Regions from separate parts of the Homo sapiens genome. Here region 1 is linked to region 2. The links are contacts of gene promoters, found by promoter capture Hi-C in blood cells and fetal thymus (Javierre and others, 2016). All regions are on one chromosome and are shown on one strand. Each heading gives the region's core, a stretch centred on a gene start or on the middle of the fragment in contact. The rest is flanking DNA. Distances are from core to core; before and after follow the strand shown. Region 1 overlaps LOC105373741 (a long non-coding RNA gene). Region 2 holds the start of ITGA6-AS1 (ITGA6 and PDK1 antisense RNA 1).

Region 1 (6,236 bases), core at 2,571-5,070, 320 kb before region 2:
TGCCTGGCTAATTTTTGTATTTTTAGTAGAGATGGGGTTTCACCATGTTGGCCAGGCTGGTCTTGAACTGACCTCAGGAGTTCACCCACCTCGGCCTCCCAAAGTACTGGGATTACAGGCGTGAGTCACTGCGCCCAGCCCAATCTTTTTTTTTTTTTTTTTTTTTTAAGTTGAGACAGGGTCCCACTGTCACTCAGGCTGGAATGCAGTAGTGTGATCTTGGCTCACTCCAGCCTCCATCTGCTGGGTTCCAGTGATTCTCCCGCCTTAGCCTCCCTAGTAGCTGGGATTACAGACATGCACCACCACACCTGGCTAATTTTTTGTATTTTTGGTGGAGATGGGGTTTTGCCATGTTGCCCAGGCCGGTAAGCTTTTTTTTTTTTTTTTTAACAAGTGGGATTATATTATACATAGAATCTCCAACTTGCTTTCCTTCACCTAGCAAGAAATCCTGGACATTTTCCCATGTGAGCACATATGGATGCCATTCATTCTTTTAAGTAGTTGCATAGTATTCCAGAATATAGCTAAACAAAACTCTTTGTGCGTGTGGTTTTTTTTTTGTTTTTTTTTGTTTTTTGAGACGAAGTCTCGCTCTGTTGCCCAGGCTGGAGTGCAGTGGCTTGAACTCAGCTTAATGCAAGCTCTGCCTCCTGGGTTCATGCCATTCTCCTGCCTCAGCCTCCCAAGTAGCTGGGATTACAGGCGCCTGCCACCACACCCGACTAATTTTTTTTTGTATTTTTAGTAGAGAAGGGGTTTCACGGTGTTAGCCAGGATGGTCTCAATCTCCTGATCTTGTGATCCACCTGCCTTGGCCTCCCAGAGTGCTGGGATTACAGACATGAGCCACTACACCCAGCCAACCAAACTCTTTTAAATCAGTCATTTACTGATGGTCATTAGGATGTTGAAAATTTTACAATTTCCTACAACAAATCAAGAAAAATAATGCAGTCCCAATTCAAGATACAAAACTTGTTCCAGAACTGACTGGAAGCTATTGGTCATTTTCTGACTTCCCTGTGCTGTAATTTATATATTTTTTCAGTTCTTGGCTACTCAGTTGAAAAAGGGCTGCTCAGATGAGGTATGGGCAGAGGTGGATGTTGGGATCATCACATGTACTTGTAATAATTCTACATTAATAATTACTAGAGTTGAGAGCAGACCTCTGCTCAGGCAGTATGTTGGCATGTGGTGGGGAGGATACCTCTGCTTCCTGTGACCCAGGTCACTTCATTTCTGCAAACCTGCATCTGGTCTTATATGCCTTTTGCTGACTGGTTCATTTATCTACTGTGTGCCTTCAGTATTAATACCTGACACTTCATATGCTAGCCAATTTCTCTTCTCAGTAATCACATCTTTCTTCCATTTTCTATTCATGTAAGCCCCACTTCTCAGTCTTCTCTTAAAGAGTCTAGTCATGTGGTCTCTTTCTCCACTGGCATCTGCCCAACCCTCTGGCATCTTCTATACAAATGCCAAAGCCTCATCTCTCAATGCTGGTCCATGATAGGGCTTTGTCTTGCCTTTCATTTCCTCCCTGGCTTTGGACCAGTCCCTCTGTTCCTTTCCAGCATCTCTGTAGCCTTAATCAGTTGCGCCTCTGATCTGTGCTTGTTACACCTGCAAGCCCAGTCCACGTAATATGCTCTTCCTCCCTAACCTTCAGAAACTCCATCTGCTTCCCTGAGCGATTCCAGCCTTCCCTGAGCAATTTCTCAGGCTACTTCAGCTGGGTTCTCTTGAGGATCAAAATGCTGAAATTTCATGTGCTATTCCTTTCATCTCTTTTGAATATTCCGTTTGGCTTAACTAGGGTGCTGCAGGATCCGACTTGGCCTTCATAACTTCAGAGAGGCCCAGCATCACCCGGTGGACACAGGTAGGGTAGGAACTTCCAGGTGATCTGCCAAGCCTGGTATTGCTCACTCCCTCAGCTCCTCCATGAGCCAGTGGGGGACAGGCCACTATTTTCAGGAAGGAGGAGCAGCTGGGTTTAAGAAAATCCTGTGGATTTAGGAGATATTTATTTCTCCTAATAATATTTGTTAGGAGATATTTATTTATTTATTTATTTAGTGGTTTTAGTGTTTTATTTTTTCTTTTCTCAGGTGGTGGGCCTTTTGATGACAGCTATGGAAAAGTCTTTCCAGAAAAATGCACGTGCACATAAAATTAGAATGTTTCCAAGATACGCATGGACCCTGTGAAACCCACTGAAGATTCCATGGCCCCAGGTTAGAACTCATTTCCCTAGAGCATATTTCATGTTTGTTCTTGGTATTTTTTCTTCTACCTACTTGTCCACTGACTGGTTGGAAAGCATTGTCTTAATGAGATAATCAAATAGACATGAATGATTCTGATGGCCTCCTTGGCTTTTTTTTTTTTTTTTTTTTTAATTTTTAAAGCAAGCTTTGCTTCTCCTTGGGATTTAAAGAATTAGGTAGTGTTCTTTCCCCTACCTCCCAGCCCCCCATCCTCCACCAACCCTATAACTTTAAAATTACAAGGTTCTGTCTTCTGAGTTATTTGGTGGGAATTCTCCTTTGAGTTATACTGAGAGTTCTTCAGTATTGGCTCTTTACTTCTTTCCCACACAACTCAATTTACATCTGGTGGGCTGACTAGGAACAAAGGGACTGATAGTGAAGTGGGATAGCCTAGGAGTTAAGAGAATGGACCCCATAGCCAGGCTGAGGGGAGTTTCTAAATTTAGTGATCTTAAATTGGTGGCTCAAAGGCTGGAGAAGCCAGAGGGTAAGTTTTTTTTGCCTGCCCAGCCTTTCCAAAAGTTAAGTTACCTTGATCTCAATAAAAGAGGTCAACTATTGTCTTATGCTGATCCTCTGAAAACATTTATGCCAATCACCTGCCCAAGGCAATTGAGTTTAGAATTTCACTTGCTCATCTATAAAGGGGGCACACTACCTACCTCAAATAACTCAATGAATTTATGAATGTAAGAACAAAATGAGTTAGCTTGGTTCCTGTAAGTTCTTAACAAATTGTACATTTGATTACTGATAATAATTTTCATTGATGAATGCCTTTGGAAGTGCTTCGAGGGGGATCTGCAAGCATGGGGGTGGAGGCTGGGAGGGAGACAGGATAGACTTGAGGGATATTGAGTCCATTTGAAAATAAAATTAGGCCTGTTTCCTGGGAAAGCCACATGAAGTGGGAGAGATAATTTGGCCCAGAAAACTGAGAAACAGTAGCCTGAAATTGCTGGCACAGAGCTCACAGAAGTCAATGTCAGGAGTTCCGCCAGAAGGAGAATGAATGGTATAGTGCTGCTTCCTGCAGAGGGAGGGAAAGCCTCTGCCAGGCCTCTTTCCCATGGAGTCTCACCTTCAGGTCTTCTGTGCCTGCTGCTCACAGCTGCCCTCTTCCACTGCCCACGCCTTAGATTTCACAGGTGTTTCCAGACATGGAAATGCTTTTGATGGGGCAGCCTCCTCCATAGCCCTGGAAGGTGCGCCTGGGTGCCATGGCCCAGGCCTGGGTGTCTGGAGCTCATTTTTGTCCGTGGCTGGGATGCTTTCTGCCTGGGCTCCCTCGGGCTTCCATGAGCTGACCACCTCATCCTGCATAGTGTTGACCTCTCGTCGACTCAGGTTCTGTTGTTGGTGGAGGGTAAAAAGTATGTTGGGAGAGCCCTGATGGGGCAAGGTGGGCAGATGCTACCTTCTGACTTTGGGTGGCAGAGTGGTGGGGCTCAGCTGGATTTAAGGAGCTCAGGCTCCCATCAGAGCTGCAGGGTCTGGGGGTTGGATTGACACTGGCTTGAGGGCAGGGACTAAAACTTTTAGTGTTGGTACAGGCTAGAGGTTAGGAGTGCAGACCCTGGGCTCAAATCTATTCTGTTGTTTGCAAGCTATGTGACCTTGGGCAAGTCACTTAATCTCCTGGAGACTCAGTTTTCTCATCTGTAAAATGGGAATAATAATAGTATCTACCTCAGAGGATTGCTGTAAAGATTAAATAAATAAGTGAATAAGGACATTTATAAGTGTTAGCTGCAATTAGTAATGATTAGCATAAGGCCAGGGCATGCATTGCTGAGCTGGGCATTAGGGGCAGGCACTGTTCAGGCAGGGCTGGGGGCCAGAATGAAGTTAACCAGGGAATTAAACAGATTTGGGAAAAAGTATTAGGATGGATGAGGTTGGGGTTGGTGCTGGAGTACAGCTTGGCCCAGATTTTCATTGAGGGGTTAGAAGAGCAGGGAGGGAACCTGGTGGAAGCAAAGGCAGCTTCTGTTTTGCCCCCAAACCTTGAACACCAATATGGACACATGTGCAGACTCCTGTCCTTCCCCTCCACTCCCCGCTCTTGCCAGCCAGACCAGGGTCTCTGTAGTCATGGAGAGGGCTAAGAAGCGGGAGGGAGGGCTCTGAGCTATTCCATCATGGGTTGGGATTGGTGGTGGCTGTAGAGCCAGTGCCAGAGGCTGGCTGACAGGTAAGAATCACTGCTGTTGTCATCTGCCTCCCAGGTCTCCTATCCCTAAAGGCTCTCTTATCCCCATAGTTGGGAAAACCCAAGAAAAATCTTGAGAGTAGTCTTAGATCCCCAGGACAGTGAAGATGATGCTGTAGAGGCCAAGGGAAAACTTCCCCTTTACCCTCTGAAGTTTTGCTGAAAAATCGACTCACAGAAGGAGATTAATAAGAGAAATGACATACAAATTTATTAACATGCACATGGGGAAGAACCACAGAGTGATTACCCCAAATCCCAATGGGGTTCAGAAGTTTATATACCCTCTTGAAGGTATAGAAAGAATGGGGGCTTGTATCCTGGCAAAACAGGTTATGGGAGGGGGAGAAGAGAAGCCCTGGCTAGCAAAGATGGTTGTGTTATGCAGGTGAAACCTCACAGGTAGCAGCCCTCAGAGTGGAGAGATGGGTGAATGTTCTTTCAGATCTTTAAATGTGTCAGACTCTCAGTTAATCTCTCCTAGATCTGGACAAAGGAAGGCCTTAGGAGAAAGCCTGGCTGCATCAATGCAGATTCTCTGCAGATGCAAATCTCCCCCCACCTGCAAAAGACAGCTTTGCAGGGCTACTTATGTTTGCAGGCCCTCTGAACAGCCATCTCAAAGTATGCCAAAGAAGTCTGTTTTGGGGTCCAATATTTTTATTTCCTTCAATACCAATCTTCCTCCAGGCAGCTCTGACAGCTCCGACAGCTCCAAAGCTTGGACAGTGGGCTGGGGAGGACATGGCTGTCTAGGGAGGGCCTCTGCCCAGGTGGTGCATCAGGTTCACACACTCAGGTCCTGGTACCATTGTGCCTGGTGAGTGGTTCCCAGTGTTTGTGATCATGGTTTGCATAACCTGCAGGCAGCTAGTGGAGAGCTTGGCTCTGTAAAGAAGGAGAAGTGTGTAGCAGGCGGAGGTCTGAGACTCTAGAAAGGCAGTCTCAGCCTGCTTTGAATCAAATAGCGGGAACAGACAAATTAATTTCCTCTAGCATGGATGGGTGGGTGGACAAAACGAAAGAGCCAGAATTCAGCAGACCTGGTCTCAGGGGCAGGAGAAGAAGTAATTATTTTCATTTCATTTCAATATCCTGTTCACTTCTTATGCTGATTAGGACAAGCCCACAGTTGCTGTCTATTTATTCGTGTAGTACTGCCAGGACTGCCAGCGCTGCCATGGGAATGCACATGTTTATGCCCGGGTGCTCTTGATGTTCTCAGAGCTGCGGGCACTGCCCTAGCCAGAGGACTGCGGATGTGCCGGGGCCCTTGAGGCATCAGCATTGCTTCATGCCCCCCAGAGCCCATGAATCAGAAGAAAGCAGGGGTTGGACAGGCTGCATCGGCTGTGTGTGTGTGTGTTTGTGTGCATTTAATAGAGGCAAAGGAATGCTCTTGCATTGTGGTTTAGGGACGAAAAGGAAACTTCTTTGAGGACTAACCATCTTGGTGTTGTTAAAACTTACATTATTACATTAGGATTATTTTAAGTGGTCTGTAATAAGGTAAAGTGAAAGGAAATGAGCAGATGAGAATCTTTCTGGGCTCTAGTTGTGAAAATCAGAATGAGAAACACCAGAGGTCTGTTTCTTAGAATCATGAATAGATTATGGAACACCCACCATCACCATTATCGTTTGATGTTTTTCCCAGTTTGCAGCTAGTGACAGCAATTAAAGATGAAACAGAAATGAGATTTAGAACTTTGGAAAGGAAAAGACAAAATTTTATTTTT
Region 2 (5,341 bases), core at 2,763-5,262:
CTGGTTCCAGGCGAATTAAGAGCCTTTGCTTGTTTCCCAAACCAGGGAGGGCAGCTTTACCTTGAGGATGAAGGCGCCTCCAGTTGCTGAATGTGGTTGGGGTTACTGTGTTCTCTCATCAAGGTGTAGCTTTACCTTACCTTTCGGTGATGGGTTCTGCCACCTTATCGCGGTGGGTCCCAGGAGACCGGGCGCAACTGGAGCAGGGGCGCCCTCTGCTGCTGGGTGTCAGCTCTTCCTCCCACGGCTGCCCAGGGGATTTGCAAGGGGCGGTGGAACACTCCTGCTTCCTCCATCCCCTGTGGGACCACCTGAGGTGGAGGAAGGACAGTGCCAGGACCATGTGCAGGCTGAGCTCGCCCAGAGGCGGTGCAACAGCTAACGTTATTCTCTGTGGGTACATTTCTCTTGTCGTTTGCAGGTCTCTTTTCGAATCTGTTGTCCTTTTTCCCCAAACCAGCCTGCTGCCCCCATCCTGCCATGTGGTCTGCTGTCATCTGCAGTAGCCGCCGCATGTAAGACACGAGGACCTCTTCTGCAAGAGCTTGGTGTGGGCATTTGTGAAATTTTGTCACCACAGCCCCTGTAACCAGCCAACAAATTCGAGTTAAATGCCTATTCTTTGTCCCACACGTATTAGTTACAGAGAGTGGAGAACAAGTGGCAGATAGAGGCTGAGGGAAGCCAACCCACTCTGAGGGACTGGGCATGTAAATGGGACAACCTCCACAGCTTTTTAAACCACAGGACACCCAAAAGCAGCTGTACCCTGCAGGACACAGCAGGCTACAGAAGCCTGGGGTTCAGAGGGTCTCTGACCCTTCGTCCTTTAGCGCTGCTGACCAGGCTGCTGATCCTCGACCCCTTCTTGTCACCCATTGTGTCCCTCTTCTCCCTTTTCTCTGGCTCCTTCCCTTGCAGCCTTTGCATATGCTGTGTTCCTTACCTGGCCACCTCCAGTCCCGCTGTCATCTCTTAGTGACATCCTCCCTTCCTCTCCAGCAGGTGCTGGTGCCCACAGCACTCTGTACCATCCTCTCATTGCCTCTAGCTCCCTGTGGTTTCATGACCTCATGACCTGTTCACGGATCAGGCTTCCCCAGGCCAGAGATTGAGGAGTGGGGGCAATTCCTTATTCATCCTAGGAGGCTCTTAATCAGCGTTTGTTGAGTGAATAGGTGAACGAATGTGGGAATGGGATAAACAGGAAATAAGCCCTGTGCCTGCCTTAGGTAACTTAGTAGCCACCTTGGGTGTGGGTGAGAAGAGGAAGTGGTTAGGAAGACACACAGTTAAGACAATGGGACTCCTGTGCTGCTTTTTCTAGGCTTCTCTTTGCTGGTGGTTACCTTTACAGGAAATCTCTTACCCAGCCTTCACTCCACCCAACTGCAATAATGCTTTTCTTCCTTCCCCTCTACTTGGCTCTATTATCTTAACTTTTATCAGCATACAGAACAGTTTTGGTTGTGATGTTTTATTTGTGTAAGTTTTGCCCTTTCAACTAGGTTGTAAACTTGAAATCCTGGGTTTTACTTCCTAAGCAGCTTTGTAAAGAAATGGAGACAACATTGCACCAAGATAATTTTTGTCATGGCCACCCACTAGCTGTGAGATCTTGGGGGATGAGTAATTAAGCTCCTCAAGGCCTCTGTTTCTTTATCTGTAAAACTGGAGGACTGGTCTCTCTCAGGGGCTTCCAGTGTGAAAGTCCTGGGGTTCTGGGCCTCTGATCCTGGCACCCCACTTATCCCTTCCAGCACCCTCCACATGACTCCACCTCTGACATCTGCCAAGTACAGTAATTTAACACATTCACCTTATAGTCTAGGCAGTTCACCTCCCAGGTACTTGTTTGTTGGCATTCCTGGGATCGGGGACATCACTGGAATAGGAGTGGAGCAGACCTGTGGGGACCCTTGTGGCCCCGGCCTTGCCTCTGTCCTCTGTCAAGAAGGTTCAGGCACCAAGGACACTGCTCCAGTTCCTAATTTAAAAGTCTGTGTGTCAGTTCTGTACCTTGGTGTGTGCTGTTTTGTTCCTTCAAATGTAGGGTGGGTTTGGAGGTGGGGGCTGACTGTGACTGTCCAGGGATCTGGGAGGAAGGACAGTGCTGGGGCTATGTGTTATCCATGAGCCACCCCTCCTTCTCTGTCTGGGCATCATCTGGCCCCCCTCCCTGCTTTCCAGGTACACTTGCCTCCGGTGGCACCTGCTGCATGATATTGGTTTAAAAAAAATATGTTGAATCCTTTATTGGAATGATTCCTTTATTGGGACCCAACAGGCATGAAGGTAATAGAGACTATTTGGTTTGTATTTTCATTTGTTTTGCTTTTGCTTCTGAGATTTGTGGGTTTCTTGATGGCCAGGAGTGGCTTGTTTTCTGTTGTAAGAATTTGTTGTTTGTACAGGTTCGTGTTCCCAGTCCTTTTCCTCAGCTCCAGCCTTGTTTCCAAAACTCTCAGCTCTTGGTTTATCTCTGTCCAGTCAGGTGTGTGTTCTTTGTCTTTGTTTCTTGTCCTAGTTGTTCCATGAGTCAGCCAGGCCTCAAAGATTGTAAACCTGATGGTGAGTAAAGGTGTTAGCAAAAGAGACCTAGCAACAAGGTCATTGGATCTCTAAAGAGCCTGTCAAGCTGTGAGATGGTGAAATTTTAAGGACTGTGGATTTGGACTGGGGGCCTCCTTATAGGAGATAAAAACACTCGGCTGGGGAGAAGAAGGAATATTACAGTGCCTAGTACATAAGTGGAGCTACACCAGTTGTCCCTGAATCCTTTGTGGGAGACTGATAGGATGAGAGAGGACGAACTCTTGTAATGTGACAAAAGTGCAAGGAAGTAAGAACTGACTTGGAAGAACAAACATCAACTTGTACACCTCAAATATATCTGCTTTTTATTTGTCCATTCTACCCTAATAAAACTGGAGGGAAAAAAAAAAAAGAATTGGAAAGAGGCCAAGGCTGCAAGTGAATAATTCAGTCGAGTTGTATCTTACTTACCATTAGGTTCTCTCAATTAGTATATAAACTGAAAATCTAAGATATAGTCAGAATTACCCTTGAAAACTACCTCAGGAAGGCACAGTGTTAGAAACTGACATATTATTGCTTATTACATTTAGTGTGGCCATTTTTTCCTTCCATTGTCACAAGTATTTGGTTTCTTCTCTTGAGTTTCATATGATATCCCTGGCATCATAGGGGCTTAGAGGTTGTATTCTTTGAAGAGGGTGTCTTTTAAACACCAGATCATACCCAGCAAGAAATGCTGATACTATGAGAGACAGGCCTATTTTCCTCGTTTTGGTATCCCCTCTTTGGCTTCCCCTGTTTAGTTGTGTTTGTGCGTTTTGCATGAACCAGCCATAGGACTCTACATTTGTTCTCACTCACTGCCTAAGCTGTTGAAGAATTAGTGGACTCCTAGACAAAGAATAATCCCACTATCTCCTAGTTCTGACTGATTTAACTGTTAAACGTATATTAAATTCAAATCTCCAAATTGTCTCTGTTTCATCAACAGGTTGCTCGTGGGGGCCCCGCGGGCAGAAGCGCTTCCACTGCAGAGAGCCAACAGAACGGGAGGGCTGTACAGCTGCGACATCACCGCCCGGGGGCCATGCACGCGGATCGAGTTTGATAACGATGGTGCGTTCCTTTCCCTCACTCAGCGTTCACTCCGGCAGCTTGCCTGTACTGTTTCCATGAGGGAGGAGAGTGGGGACAAACATTTATTCTTGTAGAGAGGACTTCTTTTAATTGCATCAGACTTGACTGTTTTTTATTTGCCCTGAAAATATTTACTTACTTTACTTCTGAATCATACTGGGATGCCGCGTGTTTTGCTGCTCCTCCTAACCGTGGTTTCTAAACCGATATGGTGTAGGGATGTTGCCACCTAGTGATGTGTTGAGGTTCTGCAGGAGGTTGTGGAAAAACTCATTTCATAGCAATGAAGAGAATGAATGAGCGTATCTTGTATTCATCAGCCAAAAGTTCTCACATGCTGTTAAAATATTTGGGAGAAAGACAGTTTTAAATATCAGACCCCTTTGGAATGAGAGCTGGCTAACAGAGATAAAGTTTTCCCTCCTGTCTCAGATAGAGACTTGTTTTGTTAAGGGCTCTGGATAGGTAGAAGATACCATGAGGTAGGCATGTTGACATCCAGTGTACCTGGCTTCTTGTAGGTTGAGCAGAGCAATTAGTGTACTGAGAAGCTCTAGCCAAACCTCGTTTGATATGTTCGGTCTAAGTAGATTTGCAGATTCGTGTCTATGTTCTTCTCTTGCTTCTTCATCTTTTAGAAATAACATTTGTTGGCCAGGCGTCGGTGGCTCACACCTGTAATCCTAGCATTTTGGGAGGCCGAGTTGGGTGGATCATTTGAGGTCAGGAGTTCAAGACCAGCCTGGCCAACATGGTGAAACCCCATCTCTACTAAAAATACAAAAATTAGCCAGGCGTGGTGGTGTACGCCTGTAGTCCTAGCTACTTAGGAGGCTGAGGCGTGAGAATTGTTTGAACCTGGGAGGCAGAGGCTGCAGTGAGCCAAAATCGTGCCACTACACTCCAGCCTGGGTGACAGAGCAAGATACCATCTCAAGAAAAGAAATAACATGTGTTCTTTTATTAGAAACTAATATGTGTTAATTTTAAGAAGCTGGTAAAATACACAGACCTATGAAGAATAAAAAAACCCACTGGCAATCTCAGTATCTAGACTTATTTTTTAACATTTTGGCATTTTTCCTTCTGTCTAAAGTTGTTTAATGTTTTTGTAATGATTCAAGATTAAAACCTGTGTCTGTATTGCTACTTATGGAGGAGTGCAAAATTTGGATATAGGTCACACAGTGGGTTTAAATTGATACTGAAATGAGCACCTGGTGGTGTTTGTGGTCCCCGTCTCTCTGACTAACAGTAACTCTCCTGTTTGGCATTGATACATTGTCAGCTACAAGATCCTAAAGTAAATCTGAGTCTTTTTCTTCCATCTCCAGTAAAGAAGAGAACATTTAATGCTGTTAAATAAAAAAATTGGGGAGTATATAGAGAAGTACCCATTTTTTTTGTTAGTTTGGATGGTAGCTGCAGTTTGGAATACTAGATTTTACATTGTTGCCTTAAGAGATGTATTTTGGAGGGCTCCCTTAGTCTTACAGTTTCACTTACCTTCTGCATTCAGGACCCTAGGTATCAAGAGAGGGCAAAGGGTATTGTTGGACAAAATAGGCAACTATATAGAGCTAAGTACTTTATGTTTCAAATGTTTGAAAGATTCCAAAAACCACATCTCTGTTTCCTTGAGATGACAAGTAATTTTTCTGGATTG

The links. Contacts are between HindIII fragments. The CHiCAGO score rates a contact against its expected background, and 5 or more counts as called.
Region 1: a contact is called between a fragment that was not itself captured here and the fragment with the promoter of ITGA6-AS1 in region 2, in 2 of 17 cell types (megakaryocytes and M0 macrophages). The highest score is 7.8, in megakaryocytes.

Annotation. Positions count from the first base shown.
Region 1 is chr2:172,142,728-172,148,963 of GRCh38, forward strand. LOC105373741 (a long non-coding RNA gene) reads left to right here. Exons shown (of 3, transcript XR_923580.2): 2 at 2,124-2,249. Among named protein-coding and RNA genes, the nearest start is that of DLX2-DT, 43 kb to the left of the region's middle. The HindIII fragment of the contact is 2,790 bases long and covers 2,426-5,215 here.
Region 2 is chr2:172,462,010-172,467,350 of GRCh38, forward strand. ITGA6-AS1 (ITGA6 and PDK1 antisense RNA 1) reads right to left here and starts at 4,013. Exons shown (of 2, transcript NR_157573.1): 1 at 3,815-4,013; 2 at 2,253-2,565. ITGA6 (integrin subunit alpha 6) reads left to right here. Exons shown (of 26, transcript NM_000210.4): 2 at 3,530-3,654. PDK1-AS1 (PDK1 and ITGA6 antisense RNA 1) reads right to left here. Exons shown (of 4, transcript NR_199657.1): 4 at 2,257-2,565. RefSeq lists an enhancer at 4,254-4,423. The HindIII fragment of the contact is 13,641 bases long and covers 1-5,341 here.